Regions from separate parts of the Homo sapiens genome. Here region 1 is linked to region 2. The links are contacts of gene promoters, found by promoter capture Hi-C in human tissues and cell types (Jung and others, 2019). All regions are on one chromosome and are shown on one strand. The core of a region is centred on a gene start or on the middle of the fragment in contact, and the rest is flanking DNA. Distances in the headings are between cores, read along the strand shown.

Region 1 (6,297 bases), core at 277-2,776, 690 kb after region 2:
TTAATTATAAATAATGTTGAATACCTGAGAAAAATAACTTTTTTGAAATGATATATGAAAACTATTTTAATTTTCAAATATTTACTTTCAGTTATATTTTAATGATAATATATTTTAATTTTTTACACTTTGAGGACAATAACATTTTAAAAAATATTTTATATCATTCATCTCAATATAACACAATTATTTGAAAATGATTATATTAGTGATTACATCGAAATGAAACAAAAAATAAACTTTGTGGAATAAACATATAAGTCATAGATAATACATATGTCTCTATTTTTATTACTCATTCAAATATCACCAACCAATCAACAGAACAGTTAAATATGCACAGTAATAAATTTAATTTTCTTTTGTATTTTGCTAACTTGCAGTCATCAAAACCATGTGTTTACACATATTTTTCAATTTTGTCATTATGAAGGCATTTGACATGTTAAGAGGCTGGAACATGTTTTATGTGATAGGTTTTAGAGTGATCTATAACTTTTAAATACTTGGAGATATGGTTTATGGGTTTCCATTCCGGCCCTTGTTCCTGGACCCCACTAGTGTTAGAGGTTGGGGTGTGTATGAAGATCTGGAGAAAGAGGTAATAACACGTTCTAAGCCCTGAAAGAGCAAAATGCTTGGCTTGTGTGAGGGACAGAAAGGCCAGAGTGCCTGGGCCTTGGACAGAGGTTGAGAGGTAGGCAGGGGCCGTGCCAATGTGGTAAGGAGTTTGGATCTCACTGGACTAGCAATGGAAACTGATTGGAGGGTTTTCAACGGGAGATGATGGTCCTGTCTGCTCTCTAGAGAATGGTCTTTAGGGGAACAAGAGTAGATGCAAGAGAACAAGGGAGGGGGCTGTTGCATTCGCTCTGACATGATGACATGACTTTCACCTGAGTTTCAGCAGTGGCGGTGATGATATGCGGGCAGATAGGGGACATATTTGAAGGAAGAGAGGATTGAATTTGCTGACAGACTGCGTGTGAGAGGCGGGGAAAGGAGACAATGGTTTCCAGGTCTTTGGTGTGTGCAACTGAGTGGATGGTGGAGGGAACCCTAGAGAGAGAAGTGGGGAAGTACAGAATACCTTGTATTTGGAACGCAAGTCCTGCTTTTGTAGAAGTACATGTGTTACTGATAATGGCTAGAGGAGAAACTAACAAGGTAGGATCAATTTCACTTAAGTATCTTCCTCTCTCCCTATCAACAGCCTGCAGCGTCACTGGGGCTGATTACCCAGGTGCCACTAAGAGCCTGTCTCATCCCAGTTGCCTGTCAACAATCCCTGCAAGGTTTTGATGGGATAACTGAAGTATTACTTGCTAAATCCTTTCTAGCTTGAAATCCTAGGATTTTAAGGTAATGAAATGGGACCCAGAAAAATTTGAATTTTAAGAGAGGACTTTCTGAAGACAAAAAAGGAATCAAACTGCAAAGGTAGGAGGGTTTGCAGGACAATCTGCCAATTGACCACCACCCTGGCCACAGTATTGTTGTCCACAATCCTTGTCTTGGTGCACACTTCAATGCACATTCACGTACATGGCCTATTTTTAAAACTAGCAAGTTTGCTTAGATGTCATCGTGCATTCTGTGAACTCATAGCTCAATGCGCTCAAAATAAAATAACAGAATATCAGAACAAGAAAGAAGTTGTTCAGCGGCTCTGATTCTTTGTTGCCCTGATAAGGGAAGTGAGGGTTCTGACATGTGACCCTCAATGATCACACAGCTGGCTGGTGACAGACGTGGGCCGGATCCCAGGCTTTGAGACTTTCTGCCTGGTGTGCTTCCCACAAACACAGCCTCTGCACCAGGGATGAGTAATAGGTTGTGCAGGGCGAGGACCTGACATTAAAATAAGTCTCAGATTTCTTCTTGCAACGGCTGCAGATTTATGTCATTTTCTGCAATGTAGAATATGGTCATATTCCCAAGAGCTCAGAGCTCTTTCATAAATATAATAATATTGATCTCCACCGTCATTCATGTAATCATCCAACATTTATTGAGTGCCTCCTTTGTGGACAAGCCCAGTGATGCTGAAGACGTAAAGAACAGGGTGTGCCCCCAAGGAGCTCCCACTGCCTGTTTGTGGTGGGCAGGGTGGAGACACTGACATTGATGACCCCTACGCAGTGTGTGTGGTGCTATGACGGAAGTGTGCATAGGATCCCACAGGATGGCCCAGCACTGACAGAAAGGAAGGGTAGGGAAGGCATCTGGAGTCGTTGAGCCCTGGGCTCTGCAGAAGGACTACCGGGAATTAAACAGGAGAGAAGGAGCGGTTCTAGGACAAGGGAACAGCATGTGCAAAGGCAAAGAAGGCAGCAGAGTTGGACACATTCGAAGAACTGCAAGAACTTGGATCTGCCTGGAGCATGGAGAGACAGGAAGAGAAAAGCCATAAAAGGGATGGTGAAGTGGGTGGGGCCAGGAGTTGTGATCTCCATTATACTGGTGGTGCATCTAAAGCAGACATCAAATTGGCAGCAGGTGAATTTCCCAGGCCTTCATGCTATTTACTCCAGAGAGTCAAGAAATGCCCAGGTGAGAGCTGCATTCAAGTCCCACCTTCTGCCTCCATCAGCCATGTCTCCCCAAGGGCAGAAGTTTTAAACAGGTGAAATCTTCAGAGTGAAAATCAAGGATATGATTAAAAGTTTAGGGATGGTGGAAAAGACAGCTATGGACTGAGTCTACGAGTGGGTTTTTCCTCTTCCCTTTAGCAGCACCTGCTGTAGCCTCCTCCTCCTACTCTTCCTCCTCCTTCTCCTTCTTCTTCTGTTTTGAGACAGGGTCTCAGTCTGTATCCCAGGCTGGAGTGCAGTGCCGCAATCATGACTTAGTGCAGCCTTGACCTCCTGGGCTCAAGCAATGCTCCTACCTCAGCCTCTGAGTAGCTGGGACTACAGGCACCCGCCACCACACCCACCTAATTTTTAATTTTTTTTTTGTAGAAAGGAGTCTCACTACGTTGCCCAGGCTGGTCAGCAACTTTCGGCCTCAAGCCATCCTCCTGGCTAATTTTTAAAATTTTTTTGTAGAGACAAGGTCTCGTCGTGTTGTCCAGGCTGGTCTCAAGCTCCTGAGCTCAAGTGATCCTCTCCTCTTGGCCTCCCAAAGTGCTGAGTAATTTGCAGAGCCCAAGACAATCCCCGAGTCTACCCGGGGATGGCACAGGGTCAGCAGGAGACAATAAGCTTATTAATCACAGAGTATCTGGCACATATTAAGTAGGTGCTTAATATGTATGTATCAAATGAATGAATGATGTGAGTGTATCAACAGAGATTCTTTGTTTTTCCCCCGGGATTTCTCTGATTTGCCAGGACTCCAAGTCTGATTGGCTTGGGTAGGAGGAAGAAGAGTCCTTGGGGCCGCCCAGGTGCTTCAGGCAAGGTGTCTCCCTTCATCCTTATAAAACCCTTTACGCCCTTCCGGTGTGTGCAACCGAATGGATGGTGGAGGGAACCCTAAAGAGAGAAATGAAAAAGTACATAATATCTTGTATTTGGAATGGAAGTCCTCCTTTTGTAGAAGTATGTGTGTTATTGATAATGGCTAGGGGAGAAACAAGATAAGATCAATTTCACTAAAGTACCTTCGTCCCTCCTCCCTCCCTTCTTTCCTCCCTCCTCCCTCCCTTTACAGTCAGTAGTTCAGATTTACAATCTCTTACCCTAGAGCCGGGTGTACTTCGGGATTCTGGATTTTCTCAGGTTTTAGGAAGGTAATGAGAGGTGACAGCGTGCTGGCAGTCCTCACAGCCCTCGCTCGCTCTCGGCGCCTCCTCTGCCTGGGCTCCCACTTTGGCCGCACTTGAGGAGCCCTTCAGCCTGCCACTGCACTGTGGGAGCCCCTTTCTGGGCTGGCCAAGGCCGGAGCCGGCTCCCTCAGCTTGCGGGGAGGTGTGGAGGGAGAGGCGCGGGCGGGAACCGGGGCTGCGCGCGGTGCTTCCGGGCCAGCGCGAGTTCCGGGTGGGCATGGGCTTGGCGGGCCCCACCGGCCCCGGGCAGTGAGGGGCTTAGCACCTGGGCCAGCAGCTGCTGGGCTCAATTTCTCGCCGGGCCTTAGCTGCCTTCCCGCGGGGCAGGGCTCGGGACCTGCAGCCCGCCATGCCTGAGCCTCCCCCGCCTCTGTGGGCTCCTTTGCGGCCCTAGCCTCCCCGACGAGCGCCGCCCCCTGCTCCACGGCGCCCAGTCCCACCGACCACCCAAGGGCTGAGGAGTGCAGGCGCACGGCGTGGGACTGGCAGGCAGCTCCACCTGCAGCCCCGGTGCCCGATCCACTGGGTGAAGCCAGCTGGGCTCCTGAGTTTGGTGGGGACGTGGAGAACCTTTATGTCTAGCTAAGGGATTGTAAATACACCAATCTGCACTCTGTATCTAGCTCAAGGTTTGTAAACACACCAATCAGCACCCTGTGTCTATCTAGCTCAGGGTTTGTGAATGCACCAATGGACACTCTATATCTAGCTACTCTGGTGGGGACTTGGAGAACCTTTGTGTCCACACTGTATCTAGCTAATCTGGTGGGGAGGTGGAGAACCTCTGTGTCTAGCTCAGGGATTGTAAACGCACCAATCAGCACCCTGTCAAAACAGACCACTCTGCTCTCTGTAAAATGGACCAATCAGCAGGATGTGGGTGGGGCCAGATAAGAGAATAAAAGCAGGCTGCTGGAGCCAACAGTGGCACCCTGCTGGGGTCCCCTTCAACACTATGGAAGCTTTGTTCTTTTGCTCCTTGCAATAAATCTTGCTGCTGCTCACTCTTTGGGTCCACACTGCCTTTATGAGCTGTAAGACTCACCGTGAAGGTCTGCGGCTTCACTCCTGAAGCCAGCGAGACCACGAACCCACCGGGAGGAACGAACAGCTCCAGACGCGCCGCCTTAAGAGCTGTAACACTCACCACGAAGGTCTGCAGCTTCACTACTGATCCAGCGAGACCACAAACCCACCAGAAGGAAGAAACTCCGAACACATCCAAACATCAGAACAAACAAACTCCGGACACGCTGCCTTTAAGAACTGTAACACTCACCGCAAGGGTCCCCGACTTCATTCTTGAAGTCAGTGAGACCAAGAACCCACCAATTCCGCACACAGTGACACAACCCAATATACCTTTTATTATATCAAACCCCGAGTGGGCTAGGGGAGCACCTTGTAATCAAACATATAAACCCTTTCTGCAGCGAAATGTAAGAATATTCAAGCTAAGTAGGATAGTACGTAACTTCAGGTCAGTTGAGGTCAGGTTTTGCTGCCCCACAGTTACGAAATGCTTGTGGTTTCCAGAGTGGGGAAGTTTGGAAATGTGGATAAGGGATCGCGGACCTACAAAACCATCACCTTTTGGATGAGGTAACTGAGATTCAAAGAGGTGAAGTAATGTGCCCAAGGTCACTCTACTGGGCGGAGGAGTCCAGGTTAGGACACGGCGGTGTTGGGTTGCAAGATCCATGCGCTCTCTACTGCATAATTCTGGCCTGCTTCCTGCTGTCCGGTACAAAAAGGAGTAAATGGCAGTCCCTCCGGTGCTCAGCGGCAATGGCAATCAGACCAAGTTTGCAAAGAAGAGTTTTCTTTCTGGAACAGCAATGCCTCCACCTACTGGACATATGTGAGAATATCACCTGACTCCCCCAGAAAACGGAGTTTATTGTCCTGGTAATGGACTCTTAAAGGAGGGCAACGGAATTGTCTTTCTGCGACTCTGCAAATGACATTTCAGGAGCCAGGAAGTGGTTACTAAATTGCTGTTACATAACTATCCTTCAAAATAATAACAACAACAAAACAACAATAATAACGTTGGAACCGTCAATGAGATTTGTTTGTTTGCTTGCTTGCTTTCTCTACTGGACTCAGCTCCTGCACCTTGAAATGTACCGGGAATAAAGTAAGAGGTTGGGACAGGCGAGGTGGCTCATGCCTGTAATCACAGCACTTTGGGAGGCCAAGGCTGGAGGCTTGCTTGAGCGCAGGAGTTCAAGACCAGCTAGGGCAATATAGGGAGACCCCCGTCTCTACAAAAATAATTTTTTAAAAAATTTCTTTTAAAAATTTTCTCTTTCATCCAATTGCCAGAAATTCTATTGTTAAATGCCAATTTTACCATTCTCAGCATCTCCGAACATCCATTCTCAAACATGGCACTCTCCAAACCTTTCAGGAGCTCCTTATTGGCCACAGACACCTGCTGCTCCAGCAGATTTGCCACGTCGTATACCTCTGCCCTAGATGGGCCGTTATCATACCGCTATATCCTATTATAGTGCCCAGAA
Region 2 (6,171 bases), core at 1,945-4,444:
TTCACCATGTTGGCCAGGTGGTCTCCTGACCTCAGGTGATCTGTCTGCCTCGGCCTCCCAAAGTGCTGGGATTACAGGCATGAGCCACCTCGCCCGGCCAAAAAATTCTTTTCTTTAATTAGCCAAGTGCAGTGGCATGCACCTGTAATCCCAGCCACTGGGGAGGCTGAGGTGGGAGGATGGCTTGAGCCCAGGAGTTGGAAGCTGCACTGAGTTATGATTGTGCCTATAATTAGCCACTGCACTCCAGCCCAGGCAACAGAGTGAAACTCTTTTTTTTTTTGAGATGGAGTCTCGCTCTGTCACCCAGGATGGGTGCAGTGGCACGATCTCAGCCCACTGCAACTTCTGCCTCCCAGTTTGAAGCGATTATCCTGCCTTAGCCTCCCGAGTAGCTGGGACTACAGGCGTCTGCCATCATGCCCGGGTAATTTTTTTTTTTCGTATTTTTAGTAGAGATGGGGTTTCACCGTGTTAGCCAGGATGGTCTCAATCTCCTGACCTCGTGATCTGCCCCCCTCGGCCTACCAAAGTGTTGGGATTACAGGCGTGAGCCACCACACCCGGCCTGAAACTCTCTCTTTTTTGAAACAAGGTCTTACTATGTTGCCCAGGCTGGTCTCTGAACTCCCGGCCTCAAGCAATCCTCTGGCCTTGTAATCCCAGCTAGGGCTGGGATTACAAGTGCACATCGCTGCAACCAGCAAGGCCTGGTCTATTTTTATCTTATATTATTTATTTATTTTTTGAGCCCTGGCTGGAGTGCAGTGGTGCAATCTTGGCTCATGGCAACCTCCACCTCTGGGGCTCAGGTCATCTTCCTACCTCATCCTTGAAAGTAGCTGGGACCACAGGTGTGAGCCACAACACTGGGCTAATTTTTAAATTTTTTTGTAGAGACAGAGTTTCACCATGTTGCCCAGGCTTGTCTCAAACTCCTGAGCCCAAGCAGTCTGCTCACCTCGGTCTCCAAATGTGCTGGTATTACAGGTGTGATCCACAGCACCTGGATGAAATTAATTTTTTTTTTTTTTTTTTTTTGAGACGGAGTCTCACTCTGTCACCCAGGCTGGAGTGCAGTGGCAGATCTCTACTCACTACAACCTCTGCCTCCCAGGTTCAAGCAATTCTCCACCTCAGCCTCCCGAGTAGCTGGGATTACAGGCACCCGCCACTGTGCCCGGTCTGTTGTTTTTGTTTGTTTGTTTGTTTGTTTTGTTTTTTTGTATTTTTAGTAGAGACAGGGTTTCACCATCTTGGCCAGGCTGGTCTTGAACTCCTGACCTCATGATCCACCCGCCTAGGCCTCCCAAAGTGGTGGGATTACAGGCGTGAGCCACTGCACCCAGCCGAAATTTATTTTTTTTTCTTTTGAGACAGAGTCTTGCTCTGACGCCAGGCTGGAGTGCAGTGGCATGATTTCAGCTCACTGCAACCTCTGCCTCCCAGGTTCAAGCAATTCTCCTGCCTCAGCCTCCCGAGTAGCTGGGACTACAGGCATGCGCCACCATGCCCAGCTAATTTTTTTTATATTTTTAGTAGAGACAGGGTTTCACCATGTTGTCCAGGATGGTCTCGATCTCTTGACCTCATGATCCGCCTGCCTCGGCCTCCCAACGTGTTGGGATTACAGGCGTGAGCCACTGCGCCTGGCCCAAAATTAATTTTTATAATGTATTTTTCTTAACCCAGTATACTCAAAATATTATCAGTTCAACATACAATCAATATAGAAACAAATTATTCAGGTATTTTACATGATTTTCTTCACACTAAGTCTTTGAAATATGGTGTGTATGTTAAACTTGTGACAGTTTGGACTGGTCACATTTGGAGTGCTCAATGTGCACCTGTAGCTGGTGGCTACTGTCTTAGCCACTGTAGGCCTAAAGTTTCCCTCAAAAGTGAGACCAAACTCAACAGGTCTCCCTATCTCAGGCCTTGCCCTCCTTGGCCCATTCTGAAACTCCACTGGCTACTAGTTATCCTTCCAAAAAACAACTCAAATCATGTCATCCCCCTGCTTAAAAGATCTCTGATATCTCCTGCCCTTCTAAGACAAAGTCCAAGCACTTTGGCATAATTTGAAAAACTCAACGACCTGACCCCAATTTCCTTTTTAAAAAATTATTATATATTTTTTTAGAGATAGGGTCTCTGTCACAAAGGGTGGAGTGCAGTGGTGTGATCACAGCTCACTGGAGCCTCAAACCCCTGGGCTCAAGCATCCTCCAGCCTCAGCTTCCTGAGTAGCTGGGATTACAGGTGCACCACCCAATTTCCCTTTTAAACTGCCCTCCCCTCTTCACCCTCTTCCCCACAATATGTGCCCATAATGCTAAGAACTTCTCAAACCCAACAAGCTTTTCCATCCTCGGTCCTTCTTGCATTTTTCTCTCTCCCCTTGAACATCCATCCATCCATCCATCCATCCATCCATCCATCCATCCATCCAAGGAGTACCTACTAAACCTCAGGTGGACGTTGGACTCAATTCAGGGGCTATCGGGAAACCTCTTCGACACTCTTACTCCTCTCCAACGCCCTTCCCCACCACCCACCTCTGCGCCCCCAGCTCTAAATTTAGCTCCCAGGACGCCGCTGGTTGGTTCACTCCTCCTCCCACACCCTCTCTAAAGGCCGGGAACGGAATTGTTAGCCCCTCCACCCCCACCCCCATCAAGGTCAAGAAATTGAAGCGGGGCGGGGGGCGGTGAGCATAACTACTCAATCCCCATTTTCTCATCTGAGGAACTAAGGCACGAAACAGGGAGTGCCGAAGGGTACACCAGGCCTGATGTCCTAATGCAGAAACCGGGCCTTCCTGCAGTGGGCCGGGTCAGCTCGGATCTCCGCGCGGTCCTGAGTCGCCGCCCCCAACCCAGCCAAGGATTAATTTAGGCGAGCTATCCCGCCCGCCATCCCCATATCCGTCCCTGCCAGCGTGGCGGGGAGGGACCCCGGACGGAGGGGCAGTCGCTGCGGGGCGGCGCCAGCGCCCGTGCGGAAGAGCCCGTGAGCAGACGGGAGTGGGTCGGGGGGCGGCGGGGGATCCCACGTGGAAGCAGCGTCCTGGAGCTGGGTGGGGCTGCGGCGCGGACTACAAATCCCAGGGGCGTGGGGCGGGAGAGGCGGAAGGGGCGTCCTGGGGCGGGGCGGCACGGGGCGAGGCGGAGCGAGGCTGGAGGCGCGGGAGGGCAGCGAGAGGTTCGCGGGTGCAGCGCACAGGAGACCATGTCCGGGGGCAGCAGCTGCAGCCAGACCCCAAGCCGGGCCATCCCCGCCACTCGCCGGGTGGTGCTCGGCGACGGCGTGCAGCTCCCGCCCGGGGACTACAGCACGACCCCCGGCGGCACGCTCTTCAGCACCACCCCGGGAGGTAGGCGCGGGCTTGGCGACGCCGCTTGCCGGCTCCTGGGCGGGCGGGAGGATCGGGAATCGCGGATTGGACCGGGTGTCCAGGCTCAAGGGCGCCGTGATTGGAAAGAACGGAAAAGGGGCATCGGAGAGACAGCGAGGGTCATGGAAGTGGCCGCCCGCTTCCCCTCTGAGTGCGTCTTCCAGACCCGAGTTACAAACTGCCCCGTTTGTTTCCTCTTTCTGTTAGGTGTCAGACAGCTGACACCTAACAAACACGCACGCCTCCAGGACAGCCACATGCCGAGCTGTGCTGCCCCTTGTGGGTGTTGGGGGCGCTCCCGAAGCGGGAGAGGGCGGAGTTAGGGTGGCCCACGATCCAGGAGAGGCCTGGCCTGGTGTTTTTATGGGATGGGTATTATCTGTTGGGATAAACGATTCCTGCAGGGCCCTTTTTCCTTCCCGAAGCACGCCGAGTTTTGTGTTGGACTCGCGCGCTCTGACTGAGGTTCGGATCTGGGGGTGCTTGCCTGCTCCAGCAGCGCCTCCCGGGCACCTGTGGCACGTTCCCCATTTACGCGAGTGGGATCTCCGCGGGGGGGACCCTGGCGCCACGGCCAGGGCTGTGCAGAAAAACACGTTCTTCTGTCCGGGGAGAGGAGGAGGCACCGTGTGACCTCCCTGGGAGAGGATGAGGAAGAGGAAGCTGAGCTGGCACGGGTGGGGGGGCCAGCCTCGGGCTGCCCTCAGGAACCTGGCATTCCCTCCCAGCCCCGGAGCCCCAGCGCACAGACGCTGATGAAACCTACGCGCCTGTTTGCATGATGAAATAAATCCTCGTGGCTCTCTCCTCCCCTCTCATTGTCGCACTGCCCCCACCCCTTTTTGCTCCTCTCCCTTCATTCTCCTCCACGCTGCTTTCCATACTACTAGAAAACGCGACAGATCCTGGCGCTTGGCTAGGTGGCGGGCGGGGGCCACATGCTTATTTTCTCAGGCAGCTGTCCCACCAGCAGCGAGCGCGGCCAGATCCGAGGTCCTCTGCTGTTTGATCCAAAACATACACTGTTAGAACGGTTAGGGATCTTGTCCAGCCCTGCCGTCTTATTCTACAGAGCCCGGCATTGAGGCCCCAGAGCTTGAACACGTGTCTGTTGCCCATTGTCACACCGTTTTCCCAGATTGGACAAGAAATAGCAACCAGGCAGAGAAGGGAGAAATGCTTCCTTTTCTATTAGAAATGAGCCAAGGAAAAGCTCGCAGGGGCTCTTGTTGCCATTCCCGACTCATCCTCTTTCCCTTGCTGGGTCTTTTGTAGTCCATGCTGTTCTCCTTTGTCTCTGTCACAATGGTCTACCAGGACAATTCCTGACAATTTTGGAGTTCTTTCAAATGAGGGTGTAAGTGTCTGCTGGATTTGTTCAGGGTGGGCCCTGAGGCCGGCCTGAAGGCGCAGGTAGCCCTTTTTTGCACTCTTTATTGCTGGATTGTTGGGTCAAATTGGAAGCCAGGATACTGTTTATAGGCACTTCTGGCCCGGGTACCAAGGTTCACACCTGTAATGCCAGCATTTTGGGGAGCCAAGGCAGGAGAATTGCTTGAGGCCAGGAGTTCAAGACCAGCCTGGGCAACATAGTGAGACTCCATCTCTACAAAGAAACAAACAAAACAACAACAAAATGTTGTCCTAGCTACTACAGAGGCTGAGGCCAGAGGATCGCTTGAGCCCAGGAGTTGGAGGCTGTAGTGAGCTATGATTGACCACTGCACTCCAGCCTGGGTGACAGAGCGAGACCCTATCTCTAAAATAAATAATAAATATAAAATATAGGAACTTCAAATCCACTTTTCACTTTGGGTTGGGAAGTGGGGAGTGGGCAGGGGGCTGACAGACCACAGCAAATCCCCTTCCCTTTGAAGGTCTTTAGCAGTAGGGGGAGTGGGGAAGGGACTTCTGCATCAGGGCATAGCATATGTTTCTGAGATCACTGGAAGAAGCTAGCAGTGCCAGGAGCCTAAAGCCAGCTCACTGTTTGGTCGTCCAGTGGAGCAGGTACAGCTCACAGTCCCTAAGCCAGGGAAACCTGGCTGACTTCCACTAAAGTCAAGCAAGCCTGGTCGGCCTCGATTAGCCAAGGTGTGGACTCTTCCTCCAAAGCCCACCTCAGCCCACCTCTGCCAGGGCAGAGAAGCCAAAATGGTCACATTGCAGCCAAAATGGTCACACCCTTTTGCTCCAGAGCAGAATACTGCCTCTCAGTCTTCCAGGTGCTTGAGGATAACTGGGGGCTTCATTTAAGTGCATATTCTGATTCTGTAGGTGGGGGTGGGAACTAGATTCAGCATTTCTTTCTTTTCTTTCTTTCTTTTTTTTTTTTTTTTTTTTGAGACAGGGTCTCACTCTATCACCCAGGCTGGAGTGCAGTGGCGCAATCTCAGCTCACAGCAACCTCCACCTCCTGGGTTCAAGCAATCCTCCCACCCCAGCCTCCCCAATAACTGGGACAACAGGCATGCACCACCCATGCCCAGCTGATTTTTGTATTTTTTGGTAGAGACGGGGGTTTCACCATGTTGACCAGGCTGGTCTCAAACTCCTGGCCTCAAGTGATCTGCCTGCCTCGGCCTTCCAGAATGCTGGGATTACAGGCGTGAGTCACCATGCCCGGCCTAGATTCAGCATTTCTAACTAGCTCTGACTGATTGGTGCACATACCACACTCTGAGTACTCAGGAATTAGTGAAACATAACTTCCCTCACCTTTCAGATCTCTGGAGTCTAGCAAAAAAAAAAAAAAGATGGCTCCATCCAGG

What was found. Contacts are between HindIII fragments. The study calls those that stand out against the background at their distance.
Region 1: a contact is called between a fragment that was not itself captured here and the fragment with the promoter of EIF4EBP1 in region 2, in 1 of the 25 tissues and cell types used here (lymphoblastoid cells).

What each region holds. Positions count from the first base shown.
Region 1 is chr8:38,715,944-38,722,240 of GRCh38, forward strand. No RefSeq gene overlaps it. Among named protein-coding and RNA genes, the nearest start is that of TACC1, 68 kb to the right of the region's middle. RefSeq lists enhancers at 3,690-4,211, 5,364-5,413, 5,554-5,733. The HindIII fragment of the contact is 4,887 bases long and covers 1-3,970 here.
Region 2 is chr8:38,027,340-38,033,510 of GRCh38, forward strand. EIF4EBP1 (eukaryotic translation initiation factor 4E binding protein 1) reads left to right here and starts at 3,195. Exons shown (of 3, transcript NM_004095.4): 1 at 3,195-3,379. The coding sequence starts at 3,235. RefSeq lists a silencer at 2,976-3,415 and enhancers at 2,992-3,286, 3,916-4,015. The HindIII fragment of the contact is 9,944 bases long and covers 1-6,171 here.